5 separate regions of the Homo sapiens genome follow, and regions 1, 2, 4 and 5 are each linked to region 3. The links are contacts of gene promoters, found by promoter capture Hi-C in blood cells and fetal thymus (Javierre and others, 2016). All regions are on one chromosome and are shown on one strand. The core of a region is centred on a gene start or on the middle of the fragment in contact, and the rest is flanking DNA. Distances in the headings are between cores, read along the strand shown.

Region 1 (3,797 bases), core at 73-2,572, 180 kb after region 3:
AGAGTTGATTAGGTTCAGCATGGACATTTCATACAATTCTGGTCAGTGAACGATGAAGAGAAGTTTAATGGTTAGAGGAAGGTGAGGCACTTTTTGAAAGTTTCTTGATGGCAGAGACCTTGGTAAATACTTTTGCAAGCAGGAGGGGAACTAGCTGGGAATAAGGAGACAGAAAGAAAATGTCAGAAGCAAGAAATAAAAAATATTTGAGTCCTTGAGTCCATTGATGATTGGAGTAACCAACCAAGGTGTATCACAATTTCTTTGTATGTGAGAAGATATATTTTCCTTATTGTTTAAGTAGAAATATTAGTGACCTCTTAATCACTGCCAAATTCATTAGAATGCTTTATTATTATTTTATATTATCATTTTACACATGAGGTAATTGAAACTGAAAGAGCTTAAGTAAGTAATTTACGCAAGATCAACTGCTTGTAAAATGTTACTCTGGTTCTAGGACTTTTAAGCACCTCACAATGCTCCCTCTCTGAGAAAGGGGCCTGATCTTGCTCAGTTTTTTAATCCTTGCTTCTAGCACAGTGTCTGGAATATAATTAGTGTTCAATAAATACTTTTTAAATATGTGAGAGCTTATGTGATCTGAATTTTTGTAGATATCCTTTCCTTTTGTTTTTTCGAGATGGAATTTCGCTCTTGTCACCCAGGTTGGAGTGCAATGGCACAATCTTGGCCTCCCAGGTTCAAGCGATTCTCCTGCCCTAGCCTCCCAAGTAGCTGGGATTACAGGCATATGCCACCACACCTGGCTAATTTTGTATTTTTAGTAGAGATGGGGTTTCTCCATGTTGGTCAGGCTGGTCTCAAACTCCCAACCTCAGGTGATCTGCCCACCTCGGCCTCCGAAAGTGCTGGGATCACAGGCATAAGCCACTGCACCTGGCCTGTAGATATCCTTTCCTTAACATCACTCAATAGGCTGATATTCTCGGTACAGAAAAATATATTTCATTTGGATCCTGAAACACTCCAACTGGGTACCCTGAAGAAGGAAGTATTTCAAATATGGAAGCAATGTAACTGTATTACAAACAGAATAATAATGAAAATAACCCCCATAGCCTCTCCAGTCTAACATAATTGCCATTGCAAGGGGTTCCCTTTCAGCCCACTTTGTATGCATACTGGGCAATTCAGTAGACACATAAAACACACTTGATAAAAGTTAATATCCATTTCTAATTTTATAAAAATTGTGGCAAACGAGAAAAGAGAATACTTTTCTAGCCTTATAAAGTATATCCCTCAAAAAATTACTGCTTTTAATGTTGAAAATATGAAAATAATTTTCCCTTAAGTTTAGGATCAAGACTATCTCTGCTTCACTACTTCTACTCATCATTATATTGAAAAATCCTATCTAGTGGATTAACACAAGAATAATAAAGTTGAAAAGACAGGAAAAAAAGGAACAAAGCTATTATTATTCACGGGCAATTTTACTATCTACAAAAAAGACAAGGCCAAGAGAGTCTACAGAAACACTATTAGCCCTAATAAAAACTGTCTGCCAGGTTGCTAGATCAATATACACATTGTAATCCAATATATCTGCACCAATTAGAAAAGGTAATTTTTAAAAACACCATCTTCAACAGCAACGAAATCTATAAGGCTCGTATGCATAAAACCCACAACAAGAGTTAAGCAAGACCCCTGTAAAGAAAATTATCAGAATTTACTGAAAACCATTTAAAAAGACCTAAATAAGTGAAGAAATATGACAAACTTATGAACTTAGATTATTATAAGATTTCCAATCCTTCCCGAGTTAAACTATGAATTTTACACGAAGAAGAACGAAGAGGGAACTTGACTTACTAAGTATTGATACTTGATATAAAGTTATATTATTTAAGATTTCAAAAGCATCAGGTAGACCAGGGCTTCTCAAACTTTCATGCTCCAACTGTGACTCTTGTGGAGATCTTGTGAACCACAGATCCTTTATTAAGAAGGTCTGGGGTGGGGCTTGAGACCTAACAAGCTGCCAGGTGATGCTGGTGCTGCTGGTTCATGGACCACACTTTGAGAAACAAGGGTATAAATAATTAAAAGAACATAAGACGGAGCTCAGAAGCAAACCCATGCATTTATGAAAGCTGGCTATATGATAAAGATGTCATAGCAGATTGGTAGGAAAGTGAACTATTTAATACTTTTGGCCCAATATCCTGAAAAAGGAGGAGCAGGAGTGTCAGAGTGAGAGATTCTATGTAGCCGGCTTTGAAGATGGAGGGAGAGGCCACAAGCCGGGAAATGTAGGCACCCAGAAGCTGAAAAAGCAAGGAAATTGATTCCCCGCAGGAATGCAGCCCAGCCCACATCTTGATTTTAAGCCAGTGTAAGCCAAGTCAGACTTCTGACCTCCAGAACTAGAAGATAATACATTTTCTGATTTAGTCACTAAGTTTGTGGTAATTTGTCAAAGTAGCATGAAGAAACTAGTACACCATATAATAAACGGTGCCATAAAACAAAGCAAAAAGAGAAGCCACAGGTGGGAAGAATTTTGCAAAGCATATAGCCGACAAAGGATTTGAATACAAAAATTCAAGACAAACTACAAATTAACGAAATAAGACAAGTGACCCACTAGAAAAAGGGGCAAAAGACATATACAGAATTCACAGAGAAGGAAACCTCTGTGTTGGCCAAGAGAAATAAGAAGAGATATACAACCTCACCAACAATCTTGGGAATAAAAATTAGAACAACGGTGAGATACAATTTTCCATGTATCAAAAATTGAAATTTCAATTTTTGATAATGTCCAAGTGTTGAGATTGTAGAACAATAGTAACTTTCACAAAATACTGACAAGAGTAGATGTTTTTGCAGTGACTTTGGAGACAGCAACTTGGCAATTTAGTAAACTTGAAGGCACTCCTACTCCATGACCTGACGATCCCATTCGTCGGTATTTCACTAGACACTCTCATATATGTACTTGGAGAAACTGACAAAACTGATCATTAAGGGATTTTTGTAATATTTAACAGTTGGAAATAAACTAAATATCTTTCAGTGGGAGAATAGATAAGTAAATTGTGGTATAGTCTTGCAATGGAATGCTATACAGCAATTAAAATAAATGAACCAGCACTACCTCTCTTACCTATGTATGTAATTATCCCCTGACTGGTTCCCCTATTTTGTGTCTTCCCCATTTTTGTACCACTGGCAGATCTCTGAAAATCTGATCATGCCTCTACTTTAATTAAAAATGCTCCAGTGGATTCCTTAAAGAACTAAAAATAGATCTACTATTTGATCCAGCAATCTCACTACTGGGTATCTACCCAAAGGAAAAGAAGTCATTCTAGGAAAAAGACACATGGACATGTATGTTTATTTCAGCCCAGTTCACAGTTGCAAAGACATGGAACCAACCTAAGTGCCCATCGACCAATGAGTGGATAAAGACCAATGAGTAGCTAAAGAAAATGTGGTAGATATACACCATGGAATACTACTCAGCCATAAAAAGGAACAAAATAATGTTTTTTTGCAGCAACTTGGATGAAGCTGAAGGCCACTATTCTAAGTGAAGTAACTCGGAAATGGAGAGCCAAACACTATATGTTCTCACTTATAAGTGAAAGCTAAGCTATGAATATGCACAGGCATACAGAGTGGTATACTGGACATTGAAGAGCCAGAAGTGGGAAGGTGGAAGGGGTGTCGGATAAAAAAACTACATATTAGGTACAATGTACACTACTTGGGTGACAGGAGCACTAAAATCTCAGAATTCACCACTATAGAATTCATCT
Region 2 (3,883 bases), core at 698-3,197, 230 kb after region 3:
AGAACGGTCTTTCTGAAACAGTAACCTAATCCAGGCATTGTCCTGCTTCGAAGGCTCCTTGTTGCTCTCAGGAATAATTCCAAACTCCTAAACATGGTTTACAAAGCCCTTCACAATCTGTCCCTTGCCTACTTTTTAGCTTGCTTTCTTTCTCTTCCTTCTCTTTCTTTCTTTCTTCTTTCTTTCTCTTTTTTTCTTTATCTTTCTCTCTCTCTGTTTCTTTCTTTTTTCTTTCTTGCTTCTTTCTTTTCTTTCTTCTTTCTTTCTTTATTCCTTTCCTTTCCTCCTTCTTTCTTTCTTTCTCTTTTTCTTTCTTTCTTTTTTTTTTTGGATACAGGGTCTCACTCTGTCACATATGCTGGAGTGCAGTGGTGCTATCACGGCTCACTGCAACCTCAACCTCCTGGACTCAAGGAATCCTCCCACCTTAGCCTCCCGAGTAGCTGGGACTACAGACCTGTACCATCATACCCAGCTAATTTTGTAGCTTTTGCAGAGAAAGATTTCGCCATGTTGCCCAGGCTGGTCTTGAACTCCTGGAGTCAAGCAATTCACCTGCCATGGCTTCCCAAAGTGCTGAGATTACAAGTGTGTACCACTGTGCCTGGGCTAGCTTTATTTCTTGCTAAACCACACTTCTCGTCTGAGAGCTCCAGCCATATTGTAATTCTCTCACATTCTCAAATAAGACTTTTCATAACTAGTTATCCCCATCTGAAACCCTTTTCTTCTCCTTAGCTCCTCCCTGCCCCTTTAGCTCCTAATCAGCTTTCAAGCTTGGGATTGGCCCTCACTTCCTCTGATCTCCTAAGCTAGATCAGAAGCCATGCCAATGCTCTCCTAACTCCTCATGGCCAACCCAGTCATAGCACTTACCACACTTTATTGTTATTGCTTGTTTAATTGTTGTTCTCCATCAGCCAGTTGTAAGCACCACAAAGGCTGAGAGTGTGTGCATCACTGTACTTTTAGTGCTGATACATGACAGATGCCTATTAAATGTGTACTAAACATAAACTCCTACTATAGGCCCTTCTCAGATGTTGGGCTGAGGGATAAGAGGATGAGGGAAATGGCAGGTGAAGGCAAAGATAACCAAGGCTCTATTGATGGGTTATTGTCCTGCAAAATCTCCCACAGAAGGCCACAGTGAAGTTCATTTACATCTCAGAAAACTCTGAATGTGTTATCTCTAACTTCACACCAAAAGATTCCTAGGTAGCCAATGTGATACAGAGAAAATATAGGGAGATTGAGAATACAAATAACAACCACTCAGTGAGCAACGGCAAAGTATCAGGTATGCTTTGGGTGATGAAGGTGTTCTTGAGTGACGAACACACAGTTGTCTTTGAATCTTCCCAGTATCTTTATAAGGTATGAAGTATTATTATTAGCCTTAGTTACCAATGAGGAACATGAGTCTTAAAGAAGGTAAATAACTTTCTCAGAGCCATCAATTGGTAAGTGACAACTAGGATTTGAACCCAGAGCTGTTATTTTTCATACACTACCCCAAAACCTGGGTTTAAAACGAGTGTATTTATGTGAGAGAAAGATTTTATAGTTGCTATGATTCCATTCATATAAATGGGGTCATACTACACATATCCACGCAACAAATACTTTTGAGCCATCCCATGTGCCCAGGACTGCTCTGGGCACTGAGAATACAACAGGGAATAAAATAGACTAAATGTTCTGAAATTTCCTTTATTCACTTTCAATGTATTGTTTAGAGTTATCCATGTCAGTACCATAATATCTTTTTCATTCTTTTTGACCACTGAATCATAGTTAATAGATCAGGAGAAACATCATTTATTAAATTTTTCTCTTATTGAAGATCATTTAGGTTATTTCTATTTTTTAATAAATTAAGCAATACTTAAGTAAACGTCCTTGCATGCACGTGTGTGTGTGCATGCACACATTTCAATTAGGTCAAATTTCTAAAGTATAAATTCCTGTAGGTGGAATTGCAAGGGTCAAAGGTTACGCACTTTTGAATTTAGATAGGTACAGTACTGCCAAATGACTCACCCCATACCTTTTCCTCAATGCTATAACAATTTAAACACCAATCAACACTGTAGTAGAGAATGTCCTAGATAGAACAATAAGATAAGAGAAAGAAATAAAGGGCATTCAAATTAGAAAGGAAGAAGTCAAATCACCCTTGTTTGCAGATGATATGATCTTATATTTGGAAAAACCTAAAGACTAAACTAAAAAACTATTAGAACTGATAAATTCAGTAAAGTTGCAGGATACAAAATCAACATACAAAAAAGTAACTTTCTATATGCCAATAACAAACAATCTGAAAAAGAAATTAAAAAAACACCATTTACAATAGCTACAAATAGAATAAATGCCTAGGAAACTTAACTAAATAAATGAAAGATCTCTGTAATGAAAACTGTAAAGCATTTATGAAAGAAATTGAAGAGGACACAAAACAATGGAAAGATATTCCATGTTCATGGATTGGAAGAATAAATATTGTTAAAATATCCTTACTACCCAAAGCAATTTACAGATTCAATGCAATCCCTATCAAAATACCAATAACGTTCTTCACAGAAATAGAGAAAAACTATCCTAAAATGCATATGTAACCCCAAAAGACTCAGAGTAGCCAAAGCTATCCTGAGCAAAAAGAATAAAACTGGCAGAATCACATTACCTGACTTCAAATTATACTATATAACCGAAAAGCATGGTACTGGCATAAAAACAGACTCATAAACCACTGGAACAGAACACAGAACTCAGAAACAAATCCATACATTTATAGTGAACTCATTTTTGACAAAGGTGCCAAAAACATACATTGGGGAAAGGAGTCTCTTCAATAAATGCTGCTGAGAAAACTGGATATACATATGCAGAAGAATGAAACTAGACCTCTATCTCTCATCATATATAAAAATCAAATCAAAATGTATTAAAGACTTAAATCTAAGATCTCAAACTATGAAACTACTAAAAGAAAACATTGGGGGAAACTCTCTAGCACTTTGGAGTAGGCAAAAATTTCTTGAGTAATACCTCACAAGTACAGAAAACCAAACCAAAAATTGACAAATGAGATCACATCAAGTTAAAAAGCTTCTGCACAGCAAAAGAAACAATCAACAAAGTGAAAAGACAATCTACAGAATGGGAGAAAATATTTGCAAACTATCCGTTTGACAAGGGATTAATAATCAGAATATATAAGGAGCTCAAACAACTCTATAGGAAAGAATCTAATAATCTGATTAAAAATGGGCAAAATATCTGAATAGACATTTCTCAAAAGAAGACATACAAATGGCAAATAGGTATAGAAAAAGGTGCTCCACATCACTGATCATCAGAGAAATGCAAATCAAAACTACAATGAGATATCAGGTCACCTCAGCTAAAATGGCTTGTATCAAAAAAACAGGCAATAATGAATGCTGGCAAGGATGTGGGGAAAAGGGAATGTAGATTAGTACAACCACTATAGAGAACAGTTTGGAGGTTCCTCAAAAAACTAAAAATAGAGCTACCATACAATCCAGCAATCCCACTACTAGGTATATCCCCCAAAGAAAGGAAATCCATATACCAAAGAGATACCTGCACTTCCATGCTTGCTGCAGCACTGTTCACAACAGCCAAGATGGGAAACAACCTAAGTGTTCATCAGTAGATGAGTGGATAGAGAAAATGTGGTTCAAATACACAATGGAGTACTATTCAGCCATAAAAAGAATGAGATCCTGTCATTTACAACAACATTAATGGAACTGGATGGAACTTACCACACTTGATTGTTATTGCTTGTTTAATTGTTGTTCTCCATCAGCCAGCTGTAAGCTTCACAAAGGCTGGGAGTGTGTGCATCACT
Region 3 (3,998 bases), core at 232-2,731:
GCGGTGGCTCACGCCTGTAATCCCAGCACTTTGGGAGGCCGAGGCGGGCGGATCACAAGGTCAGAGATCCAGACCATCCTGGCTAACACGGTGAAACCCCGTCTCTACTAAAAACACAAAAATTAGCCGGGCGTGGTGGCGGGCGCCTGTAGTCCCAGCTACTCAGGAGGCTGAGGCAGGAGAATGGCGTGAACCTGGGAGGCGGAGCTTGCAGTGAACGGAGATCGCGCCACTGCACTCCAGCCTGGGCGACAGAGCGAGATACCGTCTCACAAAAAAAAAAAAAAAAAAAAAAAAAGTGCACTTTAGATGTTTTCCTGGTGGGGGGGGGGGGGAGTGGGATATAAGTAGCAGTGTTCCAAGTACCAAAACCTCCCTGAGTCATCTGTGAAAAGCCATTTGGCAATAATACTGAAAGCTTTTAAATGCTCACATTCTGACTTAGCAGTTTCACTCCTGTGAATATAACCTAAGGAAACTGATCTCAATACTGAAAGGACTTTATACACAAGAATGGGCTGGGCAGCAAAGTGCTGTAATCCCAGCACTTTGGGAGGCCGAGGCCGGGTCGAGGGAGAAGCACCTGAGGTCAGAAGTTCGAGACCAGCCTGGCCAACATGATGAAACCCCGTCTCTACTGAAAGTACAAAAATTAGGTGGGCGTGGTGGCAGATGCCCGTAATCTCAGCTACTCAGGAGGCTGAGGCAGGAGAATCTCTTGAACCTGGAAGGCGAAGGTTGCAGTGAGCTGAGATCGCGCCACTGCACTCCAGCCTGGGCGACAAGAGCGAGACATCGTCTCAAAAAACAAACAAACAAACAAACAAACAACCAAACAAAACAAAAAAGAATGAATAATTTATAATCGTGAAGCTTTGGAAGCCACTTGAATGTTGAACATTTGCGAGATGCTCAGAGAAGTGACAGCGTATCAACCCAATTTTTTAAAGTCCTGCCATTAAAAATTATAGGTAGGAAGCGTCAGTACTAACACGGTGAAAATGTTCATGTTACAAAGTGGAAAACAACCCTGGATTCAGTTTAGTATGTGCGTTTTACCACAGCTATGTAGAAACAAATCCATACACATGGAAATCGAATGAAGTGAAACGCATGCAAATGGTAATGATGCTGTGCTTGGAGGCAGAATTGGAAGCAGTGTTAAAGTTATTTATCATCATTCGTGTTTTTAAAATGCCGTGTGATGGCCGCAATACTTCTGTAACGAATGATGTTTAAGCACGGAGCCCTTCACTGGCCGACGCGCGGGTGGGAGATAGGAGCCGCGCCCAAGCTCAGGTGGCGGCTGCGGGCAGGGCCGCCTGGGGCCGCAGCCGGGCGCGCTCCCGGCGGGGACCCTCTGCTCTCCTTGCAGACGGAGGCCGCGCCGGGTTTGGAGGCATCCCACAGCCTCAGGCCGAGGACCCGCCGCGAAGCGCCGCCTCCGCGGGTTGACCCTCTGCAGCCGCCGTAGCGCAGAGACGAATCCGCGCTCCCCCAGGCTGTCGCGCGAGCTCCCCGGAAGCTCCCACCTGAGCGGCGCATCCTCAGGGCCTGGGCCTGGCCTCCTTGCCTGTGAGATGGCACTGTGACGGTGCCCACCTCGTGGGGTGTGTGAGGGCCGAGTGAAATCGTGCATTTGCGGTAAGAAAGTGCTTATCACGGTGCCCAGTCCTAATATGGGCTGCCAGCCTAAGTACAGAGTCCCAATCCCAGCCCAAAGGCCAGTTTCCAGGTGAACCCTTGTCGGGGAGACCACCAGACGGAACAGTCCCAGTCTACACTCCTGCACCGAGCAGGGGACAGTGTGGACCGCAGAGAGGTCCGAAGTCCCTTTAGAATAAGGATGGTGCTTCAGGGTTGTTAAAAGGATTAAATGAGATGATATCTAAAGGGATTAGCACAGTGGCTGGTGCTAAAATAAATCATTTTCTCTACTGCCACTGCTCTTACAACCAGACGCCTGGAACAGCCTGCTGGTTCGTCTCCTCATTTGTAAGCTGGAGTTAGTAGGTGTGTTGTGAAGGTTGAGAGAATATGCATAGGCAGAACCTGGCGTTTAATATTTGGGAAGTGGCAGCAATTCTTTCTTCATTAATCTACAAGCTGCACTGTGGTAGGCACATACCCTTAGCACCGATTCTTATAAGTGCAGGTAAGAGAGAGAGAAGATATATTGTGTAAGTCGAAGGAGCCAGCCGTGTCCAGGCCACCGCAAAACCTCGACAGTACTGTACCAGGGCCCTCTTCAGTGAATGAATCTCCTCTTTGGCCTGTTTGCTGTCTGTTTGCATTTGCTGCACCCATCAGTTCCCAAACCTGGTCTCTAAAGTCAGGAGCTCAAGGAAGCTTGTCCCAATCCTAGAAAACAAGTACAGCACACACCAACAGCAGCATCCCTAAAAGCCAGCCCTACTGGCAATGCGGGCCCTGCAACCCGTAGGTAAGTGGGACACTCTAAGCTTCTTGGAAACAGCTAACTCAGGGCCTGATTAGCTTACTCCCGCCTCCTGTCTTCAGGAAATCAGACTGTGTAAAATAAGAGAGAAAAGAAAATTGACATAAGTCTATTCCACTGTCTAATGAAATGTGTTTCACTTGTGTTTAAAGTGAATTGTGGGCTGGCGTGGTGGCTCATTTGCCTATAATCCCAACACTTTAGGAGGCCAAGGCAGGCAGATGGCTTGAGCTCAGAAGTTTGAAATCAGCCTGGCAACATGCAAAAACCCCATCTCTACAAAAAATATAAAAATTAGCAGGATGTGGTGGCGCATGCCTGTAGTCCCAGTTACTCTGGAGGCTGAGGTGGGAGGATGGCTTGAGCCTGGCAGGTCGAGGCTGCAGTGAGCTGTAATCATGCCAGTGCACTCCAGCCTGGGTGACAGTCAGGTCCTGTCTCAAAAAAAAAAAAGTGAATTGTAGTACCAGCTACATTTGTAGAGCCCTTTCTCTTTACAGTCATGGTGCTAAATTCTCTGATCTCATTTAATCCTCCCAACCACCCTCACAATGCTGTGTCCATTTTACATATTGGAAAGCTAAGACTCAGGTTAAGAGAGACTTGTTGAAGGTCACAGCTAGTAAGCTGCAGAGAACCAGAAAGTGAATCTGGGTTGATCTTGACTCTAAACAGTTTGCTTTTAACAACTATACTCCTTTGAACATATTTACCCTATTTTCTTCATTAAGTAAAATGTTTTCTGTATCTTAATTTTCAGAACCTCTAATACAACATTTTGCAGAACGTATTTTCTAAGTATCCCCGATCCCCGCAATCCAGGCTGCCTTCTGTAACCTTTTAGTCATTGCAAACACATAGTAGATGCATGCTGAATTTGTGAGCTTGGCACCACACATGACAGGCTTTGGTTAGGGAATTCAGCTGCAAGCAACCAAACCCTCAGAGCCAAAGCCAGGGGTGCTAGGACCTCTGGCCCTGCAGTGGCCCTGATATGGCCTTTGTGTCCTGCCTCAGAGGCCTTTCTATCCCCACAGTTACTGGGACAAAATGTCCTATGCTTTCACCCTTATGTGGCTCCAGATGTAGGATTTAATTTTTTAGAAATCTGCAATACTGCAGCAGAAATGTAGTTATGAGTCAGGGATGTGTATGTGTGTGTGTCTGTGTGTGAAAGCCAGTCTCTCAGCACCAGCTAAAAATGTGAAGCAGCAAGTCTGTGCTGGGAATTGAGGACACCATATGCTTGCATTTCTAGGTCTTCCTAAGAGTTATATAACTGCCCCTAAAGCCAGGGGGCAGGAGCAGGGCCAGCCGTGGGAGACGTTTCCAAAGAGGAATGCTGAGGAAGGACTGACCTTGAGGAGACAGGGAGTTTGCCAGGCTGTGGAATGTTCCCAGCCTTGGGGCTTAAACAAAAACTGTATTCAGAGGGTGAGTGCTCTGTTGAGAACAAACCCTATCTGTCTCCTGCTTTGTCTCCGGAGCTTATCAAGGTGAGCCCTTTCTCTGCAGGTTCTGGATATTGAATTTAGAGGTG
Region 4 (4,052 bases), core at 888-3,387, 160 kb after region 3:
AAATATTTATTGAGCACTCACTATATGCCAGACACTGAGTTAGGCAATGGGGATGCAATGGAGGGCATTTTACCAACAAATGTAGTTTCTGCTCTCATGAACCCTACAGTCGGGTGGGGAAAAATGGCTTTAATCAGATAATCACACTACTGGGTAAATACTTGAGATATTAGGAAAGGGACATGGTTCCTTGCAACAGTGTGACAAAGGAACAGGTCACATGATATGCCTTGTTGCTGTTATAACCTAGGCAGTGGTTCTCACATTAAGACTTGCAAAAGTTACCTGGGAAGAATGTTTAACATTCAGATTCCTGGGCCACAAGCTCAGGGAATCTGATTTAGTAGATCAAGAATCCCCTCCAGAAATTTACATTCTTAATGCACTCCTCTGCCCCACTTCTCTAAATAATTCTCACATAAATGGTCTTTGGGGAAATTTAAAGAAAATGTGACCTAAAGTTAGGGTGGGGTCTTGAGGACCGATGTCTATGAAGTCTCTGTTGACAGTGTGTGTTTCTAAGCTGGTTCCACTCCAGGCTGTTCCTGAAATGTGTTTGATAAGCCAGATTTTTGTCCTCTTGCTTAAGCTAGTTTGAGTTAGGTTTCTGTCACTTAAATCGACCACATCCTGACCAACTTAGGTCCTTGATGATCTCAGTGACCATCTATTGTAATCTCTGCTAGCTGTGTGGGTCTGCAGCAGTGAAGTTATAATTTACTGTTGCCATGGTTACTGGCTCTGAGCAGGAACATAGAGAAGCCCTCCCACCTTTACAGCTCCTCATACTTTTTGGTAGACAAAAAGTCTACCAGCTTTTTGTAAGCATCTGTGATAAGTGTTATGCACAAAACACAAATATCAGCAACTATTCTCAAAATATTAATTTCTGACCGAACAAGGTTGCTCATCATGTCTATGACCAAGCACAAAAAATTTTGGTTAAATAATAAAGACTCATGTTTGTGATCACCCCACAGAGTCAGAGTTGGGTGTTAGGGCTCTGGAGTCCACATTCTGAATTTGCATCCTGGCTCTGCTACTCTCTGGCTCTGCGATGTTGGACTAAATCGCTTCACTTCTCTGAGTCTGTTTCCTCATCTATACAGTGAGTGCAATGAATAAGATTTACCTCATTGGGTTGTTGTGAGGATTGAATGCATTATGTATGTAAAGAGTTTGGAACAGTACCTGCCACACAAGCCGGGCTCAATAAGTATTAGCTATTATTACCTGGACTTGAATGTGCTTCCAATTGCAATCCCTACATTGGCTTTCCCAGCCTGATGACCTTTTACCCACATACCCACATTAGGAAATCTTGTTTGTAATTGCACTTCACTTTTTTCCTGCTAATAAATAATATTTTCCGTCTAAATCTACTGTTTACCTTCTGTCCCCCAGAATTTAGGCCCTTCAACACTTCCCCCTTTTCAGCCAATTCAGTGCTTGCTTCTTTTTATGAACTCCCAAGTCTCGGTGATTCCACCTTCCTGTGCCCTCAAGGCTCCAGTTTGAGCCTTTCTCACTGCGTATGTCTTCTCAATATGACCAAGAGTTTCCAGAGACCACAAAGAAGCTTCAAGTACATGTATGCCCCCAGAGCCTAGTACACACCGTCATGACCACTGAAGCCCTGTACCAGGAAGTAGCTGGCTAATGCCATAACTCATTCCATTCTTACCCAACCCCTGAACCATAGTTTCCTAATGTTAACTGGGGATGATGCTACCTACTTAACTGGATTGCTATAAAAATTGGAGGTGATGATATGGGCAAAGCCAGGTTAATGCTCAATAGCATTTACTATAGTATTATTATTTTCTACACCTGTAGAGGAAATAAAACAAATGAAAGTGCCTGCACTGGTTGAAGACTCCTTCAACTGTCACTTCCATTGTGCTCTACAATTCTCTTTCTCTCTTATTGTGGTAAAATACACATATCCTTAAATTTACCATTTTAACCATAGTTCACTTATGTTAAGCACATTGACATCATGGTGCGCACCATCTCTACAACTCTTTTCATTTTGCAAAACTAAAACTCTGTACCCGTTAAACAGCAACTCCTCCTCCCTCCTCCCCCTAACCCCCAACAACCACCATTCTACTTTCTGTCTCTGTGACTTTGAGCACTGTAGTTACTTTGAATGAGTGCGTACAGTCCTGTATGAGTACGGTACTTGTTCTTTCATGCCTATTTTATTTCACTTAGTGTAATGTCCTCAAAGTTCCTCCATGTTGTAGCATATGTCAAAATTTCCTCCCTTTTTAAGGCTGAACTATACTCCACATTGTTTTCATCCATTCATCCATTAACGGGCCCTTGGGTTGCTTCCATGTTGTAGCTATTGTGAATAGCGCTGCTATGAACATGGACATACAAATATCTCCTTGAGTTTCTGCTTTTACTTCTTTTGTGTAAATACCCAGAAGTGGAATTGCTGGATCATATGGTAGCTTTATTTTTAATTTTTTGAGGAACTTCCACAAAGGTTGCACCATCATACGTTCCCATCAACAGTGCACAAGGTTTCCAATTTCTCCACATCCTCACTGACACTTGTTATTTTCTAGGTTTTTCTTTTCTTTCTTTCTTTTTTATTTTTTAATAAGCACTATCCTAGTGGGTTGAAGTGGTCCATAATTGTCTTTTAACCCTTAGGGGGCTTCTCTGACCAAGGACAAGCTTCAGGGGCAGATTTCTCGATCACAGCCCCAGGGAGTGAGTGGATTTTGACAGAGGGAACACAGGCCCCAGAACCACACTCCCTGACTCATTTACTCATCAGAATTACCCTAAATTCTAGCATCTTAGTTTCACAAGTGAGAAAACAGACTCAGTGTGGTTAAATGGTCTTTCCACGACACACAGCTGGTATTCGAACTGGGCCCCACACCACATAGGTGTGGAAGAACTGCGGTGTATGTCAGCATTCACACTGTACAACCTGAGTTCAAGGTAAGGACATTTTCTCTCTGATTCTCCCTGAGCAATACAACCCTGGGCAGAAGCTTCCACCACCCCTAGCCCACAGCTGTTCAGGCACCTGAAGGACTGGGTGAATAGGCAACAAAGCTGACTGCATTTATTATTTAAGCAAGCATCCCAGTGCACCTGTTGTGGTATTATGTTCTATTTATGATTACAATAAAATGTGTAGTCCCAGCATTAGAAGGTTTATGAGAGTTTCCTCAACTCTAAAACTCAGAGGGAGGGAGGGGCAGGTGCCAGCCAGCTGGGGTCCCTTCAAATGTGACTTGGTTGCAGTGACGGGCATAAAATTGATGCATTGGGCTTGGTTTTGCCTGATTTTTGTCCAAACAGCAGCAGTTAGGGAACTCTCCCTCTGGCACAGCTGGGTGGGGTCACTGAGATATGAATGCTTGGTACAGAGTGGTGAACCAGGAGATAAGGCAGGGAAAGGCTCCCCAGGATCCCAGCCGGAGAGGACTGGTCCCATCCAACCCAGCCTAGCAGTCGGCTGGCCTGTTCTACTTGGAAGTCTTTGTCCCAGACACAGGTATCTTAACTGCACCCTAAGGGATTACTGGTCATTCAACCTGCAGCCCTGGTAGAAGCCTTGGGAACCTTTTAAAAGTGAACACATAATTACTTCATTATGTCTCTCAGCCACAGGTTAGCTAGACTCCACTGTCTTCATGCCTGTTCTATTTATTTCAGAAATGACCATCACTGTTGTGACGTAGGTGTGGAGGGGCTAGAGGCCAGCCCAGTGGGAACTGTACCCTCAAGGAAGGCTAGGACAGGGACCAAGGGGTTCTGGCAAGCCCAGCTTTCAACAGCAACATGGAGCAGATGACAGTGGAGGAAGGGCCTGAGGCTTTACCTGAAAGGAAGCCCAGGAAAGGTCTAAGTGATAAAGGAATCTTTATGGATGGGGTCCATAGTTGCTGTGGCTTTGACACAAATTGTGCAAATATCACAATCCATGAGCTTGAAAACCAAATGGGGAAAATGAAAAGGTATGTGGACAGCTGGGGATGCAGAGGGATCTGTCACGGGCCTCTAATCAAAAGGAATGCCAG
Region 5 (3,581 bases), core at 301-2,800, 250 kb after region 3:
ACCCATGGACTCCAGCCTTGCAGCCATCCCAGCCAATGTGCCAGATATGTGAGTCAAACAGTTTTGGGCCCTCCAGACCCGCCTCACCACTAGTTGAATACCACCAAGTGACCCCAACCTGTGTCACTCTGGAGCAGGAGAATCATCCAGCCCAGCCCTGCCCTAATTCCTGATCTAGAAAATCATGATACATAATAAAATGGTTGCTGTTTGGACAGGTGCAGTGGCTCATGCCTATAATCCCAGCACTTTGGGAGGTCGAGGAGGGCAGATCATAAGGTCAAGAGATCGAGACCATCCTGGCCAACATGGTGAAATCCCGTCTCTACTAAGAATACAAAAATTAGCTGGGCATGGTGGCATGTGCCTGTAGTCCCAGATACTTGGGAGGCTGAGACAGGAGAATTACTTGAACCCAGGAGACGGAGGTTGCAGTGAGCTGAGATCGCACCACTGCACTCCAGCCTGACAACAGAGTGAGACTCCATCCCAAAAAAAAAAAAAAGTTGCTGTTTAAGCCACTAAGTTTGAGGTTGTTTGCTATGTAGCAATAGCTAACTAGCACATGATGTTAATGGCATTATACTTGTCTGTGAAATTCTATGCAGTTTAGCATGCAAATATTGACAGATGTTGGAGAAAATATACGCAAATACACACATACATAATATGGGCTTGTGGAGGTGCATGACATTCTGTGCTATTCCCATTAACTTTGATTTCTCAAGTCAACTAAAATGGCCTGTGGATACATTTCCACAGCAAAATGTACAACAACTAAAAACAAGAACCTCCTTGTGAATTTTACTGAGGTCTGTGATGTGGCACCAAGTTCTATGTTGGGACTTGTGGAGGAGATGTAGGAAAAGCCGGTGAATTGTGCTGAAGGCTTGAGAAGGTGGGGTCCTTATACAATGAGGGCTTTGTCTGCTCATGAACCCTGTGTGGCCATTTCCTAAGGTAGAATTTTTAGTTTGGGAGAGATTTGCATTTTGAAAAAGAGGATTTTATTTCCTTCTCTCTCCAACTAATTTAAACCTCCCTCATCCCAAGGGAGATTTTTAGTGCAGTATAATAAGGACGCGTTCAGAATCACAGCCTCTTTTTCTGAATGTGTTTCTTATGTAAATGCTGCATCAGAGAAATTTCCCTCTACTTTACACTTTAATTCTGCTTTTAAAACCTGCAAAATAGAAACACAGAGAAAAAGACACCTTGAAAATACTTTGAGTTTCATCTATTTTCCATTTTTACCTCAGGCTCCCACATTTTATTTTTCATCCTTATTCTTCAAGTCAAGTATATTTTAAAACCATCCTCTGTTGAACTGGAAAAGCAAAGAAAAATTATGATTCCTATACATTAAGCTGCCCAAATATACCAAGAAATGCAAGCACTTTATAATGATCTAATAATCTCCGGATGCCACAGTGAAGCCAGAAGACCCACAGGAGGGGAGTCAAGGGACTTCTTAAGAGGTCCCATCTGAAGCCACTGTGGCCCCCTCCCCCACACCACAGTACTTCTGGAGGGGATGGGACAGGCCTGGTTCCATAGTTCTCTTACCTCCTGCCCTTAGGAAGAACTGTGTATTTAGTGTTTATGGCCCACCCACGGTACTCCAAACAACATCTAGCCTGAAACACCTCACTATAGTGATTTGTTGATATGTCCATTTGGTCCCTTGGGAGCAAAAGCAGTGAGGGAGAGAAGAATTATATCTCATTTCCATGGCTTCAGACAGCCAAATAGTACTTAAAGATTGAAAAATGTGCTTGGTCGGGCACGGTGGCTCACACCTGTAATCCCAGCACTTTGGGATGCCGAGGTTGGAGGAGTGCTTGGAGGAGTGCTTGAGACTGGGAGTTCCAGACCAGCCTGGGCAGCATAGCAAGACCCCAATGCTAGAAAAAAAAATTAGGTGGGCCTTGTGGCACATGCCCGTAGCCTCAGCTAATCAGGAAGCTGAGTCAGGAGGATCGTTTGAGCGCAGGGAGTCAAGGATACCATGAGCTATCATTGTGCCACTGCATTCCAGGCTGGGAAGCAAAGGAAAAAGCCGTCTCTAAAAAAAATTTTGAGAAGAAAAATTTAGAAAATATGCTTACTGAATAACTGATTGAAAGAATGGGTTTAAATATCAATTTAGGTACTTACTAGCAGCATTTCCTTGGGCAAGTTATTGAATCTCTAAGCAGGCCCTGGTTCCCTCCTCTGTGAAACAGAGAAAAGTTGCAACCAGCTCATGGATAGTTCCGGGGAATAAAGGGGGTAACATTTGTGAAGTGTGTGGCAGTATGTACCAGGCACACAGTAGGTTCTCAACTAAGGGCCCATCACACCGCCCCTCCAGACTCATCTGCTAACGCTCACAGAAGGAGTGGACCTTGCTTATGGGGTTGGGGAGCACCTGTAGGGTTTGCTGCACCCACAGCACTGCTCCACTTTCCTGGCTCTTGCTTGAATCAATGTCCTTAAGAACTTCGTCTAACTGGAGGCTTAGATTCTACTTTAAAGATAACTCTTTGGGGGGTGGGAGGTCCTTTAAGTGCCTATCAGTCACTGAAACCTCGGTATGAACTAGTTCCAGATCCTCCTCATAGAACATATTGCAATGCAGACGTGGAGCTAGAGAGGGCAGATGGGTGCCTGAGGCTGGGCTAGGGATGAGGTAGGGAAACGAGGGTGAGGAGAAAACTGGGAATGCTGGGTCCCCAAGGGAAGGAATCAAGAGGGGCGGTGTGTAAGGAAGCGTTCCCTGGGAGACAGGAAAACACTGCAAAGTCAGATCCAGGTTCAAATGTGAGCCTTTCTTATTGCTGGCAGTGTGACTGTGAGCAAGTGACTTAACCTCTTGAAATTGTAGTCTTCTGATCCGTAAAACGGGGCTAATACTAGCTAATATACGGGGTGACTCTGGGGATTAAGTGAGGAGACATATACAAAGCGTTTGGTAGAGGGTTGGTGGAGTAGTGGAGGGGGGACGGTGCAGTGCCCCGCTGGCTCCTGTACTCAGCAGTAGGTTAAGCAAGGTTTCATTTGCCGTCTATCTAGGCTGTGTTTATTACTTCCTTTCCCTCACCTCAATTTCTCAGTCTGTGCTCTTTTGCCTGGGGCCAACTGTGGCCGCAGTGACAGCCACCTGCATTAATTATGAGAGAATGCATCTTTTCTGAAATCTTCAAATCCCAAACCAGAGACAGAGGCTAGAGTACAATAATATTTCATTCTAGCTGGGACAGTCGGCCTCAACCACAGCTCCAGGAAGGAAATAGTGAAACCAATGCCGCCATTCAGTTGAAAGCGAGGAGAAAATACTAGTGCGTGGAAGACAATTCACCGTGCGGGTAGGGGCCCTCGGGCCTGCGCGGCTGCGATCGGGGCTGGCGCCACCGCGGACCCTCCGGGCGGCCGGCAGGAGGCGCTGCCGAACCTTCTCCGCATGCGCTTGGGGCGCAAGTGGGAGCCCTTCCCCCATCCCGGGCGTTGTTAAAACCCAGTGGGGCGCGGCAGCAGTTTTCCTCGACCCTTCCCGGTCCCCTGGCGGGGTGCTCCCGCCTCTTTGTTCTACTCCTCTGTGT

Evidence for each region. Contacts are between HindIII fragments. The CHiCAGO score rates a contact against its expected background, and 5 or more counts as called.
Region 1: a contact is called between a fragment that was not itself captured here and the fragment with the promoter of ATP1A1-AS1 in region 3, in 6 of 17 cell types (naive CD4 T cells, non-activated CD4 T cells, total CD4 T cells and 3 more). The highest score is 13.8, in naive CD4 T cells.
Region 2: a fragment that was not itself captured here is called in contact with the fragment with the promoter of ATP1A1-AS1 in region 3 in 1 of 17 cell types (non-activated CD4 T cells); the score reaches 5.0 in non-activated CD4 T cells.
Region 4: a fragment that was not itself captured here is called in contact with the fragment with the promoter of ATP1A1-AS1 in region 3 in 3 of 17 cell types (non-activated CD4 T cells, naive CD4 T cells and total CD8 T cells); the score reaches 7.0 in non-activated CD4 T cells.
Region 5: a contact is called between a fragment that was not itself captured here and the fragment with the promoter of ATP1A1-AS1 in region 3, in 13 of 17 cell types (non-activated CD4 T cells, naive CD4 T cells, total CD4 T cells and 10 more). The highest score is 16.6, in non-activated CD4 T cells.

Annotation. Positions count from the first base shown.
Region 1 is chr1:116,235,827-116,239,623 of GRCh38, reverse strand. No RefSeq gene overlaps it. Among named protein-coding and RNA genes, the nearest start is that of MAB21L3, 130 kb to the right of the region's middle. The HindIII fragment of the contact is 5,307 bases long and covers 1-3,797 here.
Region 2 is chr1:116,187,844-116,191,726 of GRCh38, reverse strand. No RefSeq gene overlaps it. Among named protein-coding and RNA genes, the nearest start is that of MAB21L3, 78 kb to the right of the region's middle. The HindIII fragment of the contact is 2,338 bases long and covers 779-3,116 here.
Region 3 is chr1:116,416,105-116,420,102 of GRCh38, reverse strand. It overlaps ATP1A1-AS1 (ATP1A1 antisense RNA 1), which reads left to right and starts at 1,481. Exons shown (of 3, transcript NR_027646.1): 1 at 1,481-1,644. RefSeq lists a silencer at 1,273-1,402 and enhancers at 1,362-1,656, 3,838-3,998. The HindIII fragment of the contact is 1,476 bases long and covers 876-2,351 here.
Region 4 is chr1:116,256,451-116,260,502 of GRCh38, reverse strand. No RefSeq gene overlaps it. Among named protein-coding and RNA genes, the nearest start is that of ATP1A1, 110 kb to the left of the region's middle. The HindIII fragment of the contact is 1,112 bases long and covers 1,582-2,693 here.
Region 5 is chr1:116,168,382-116,171,962 of GRCh38, reverse strand. It overlaps LOC124904384 (a long non-coding RNA gene), which reads left to right and starts at 3,123. Exons shown (of 2, transcript XR_007066496.1): 1 at 3,123-3,347. RefSeq lists silencers at 461-755, 2,143-2,326, 3,391-3,500 and an enhancer at 3,101-3,190. The HindIII fragment of the contact is 6,818 bases long and covers 1-3,581 here.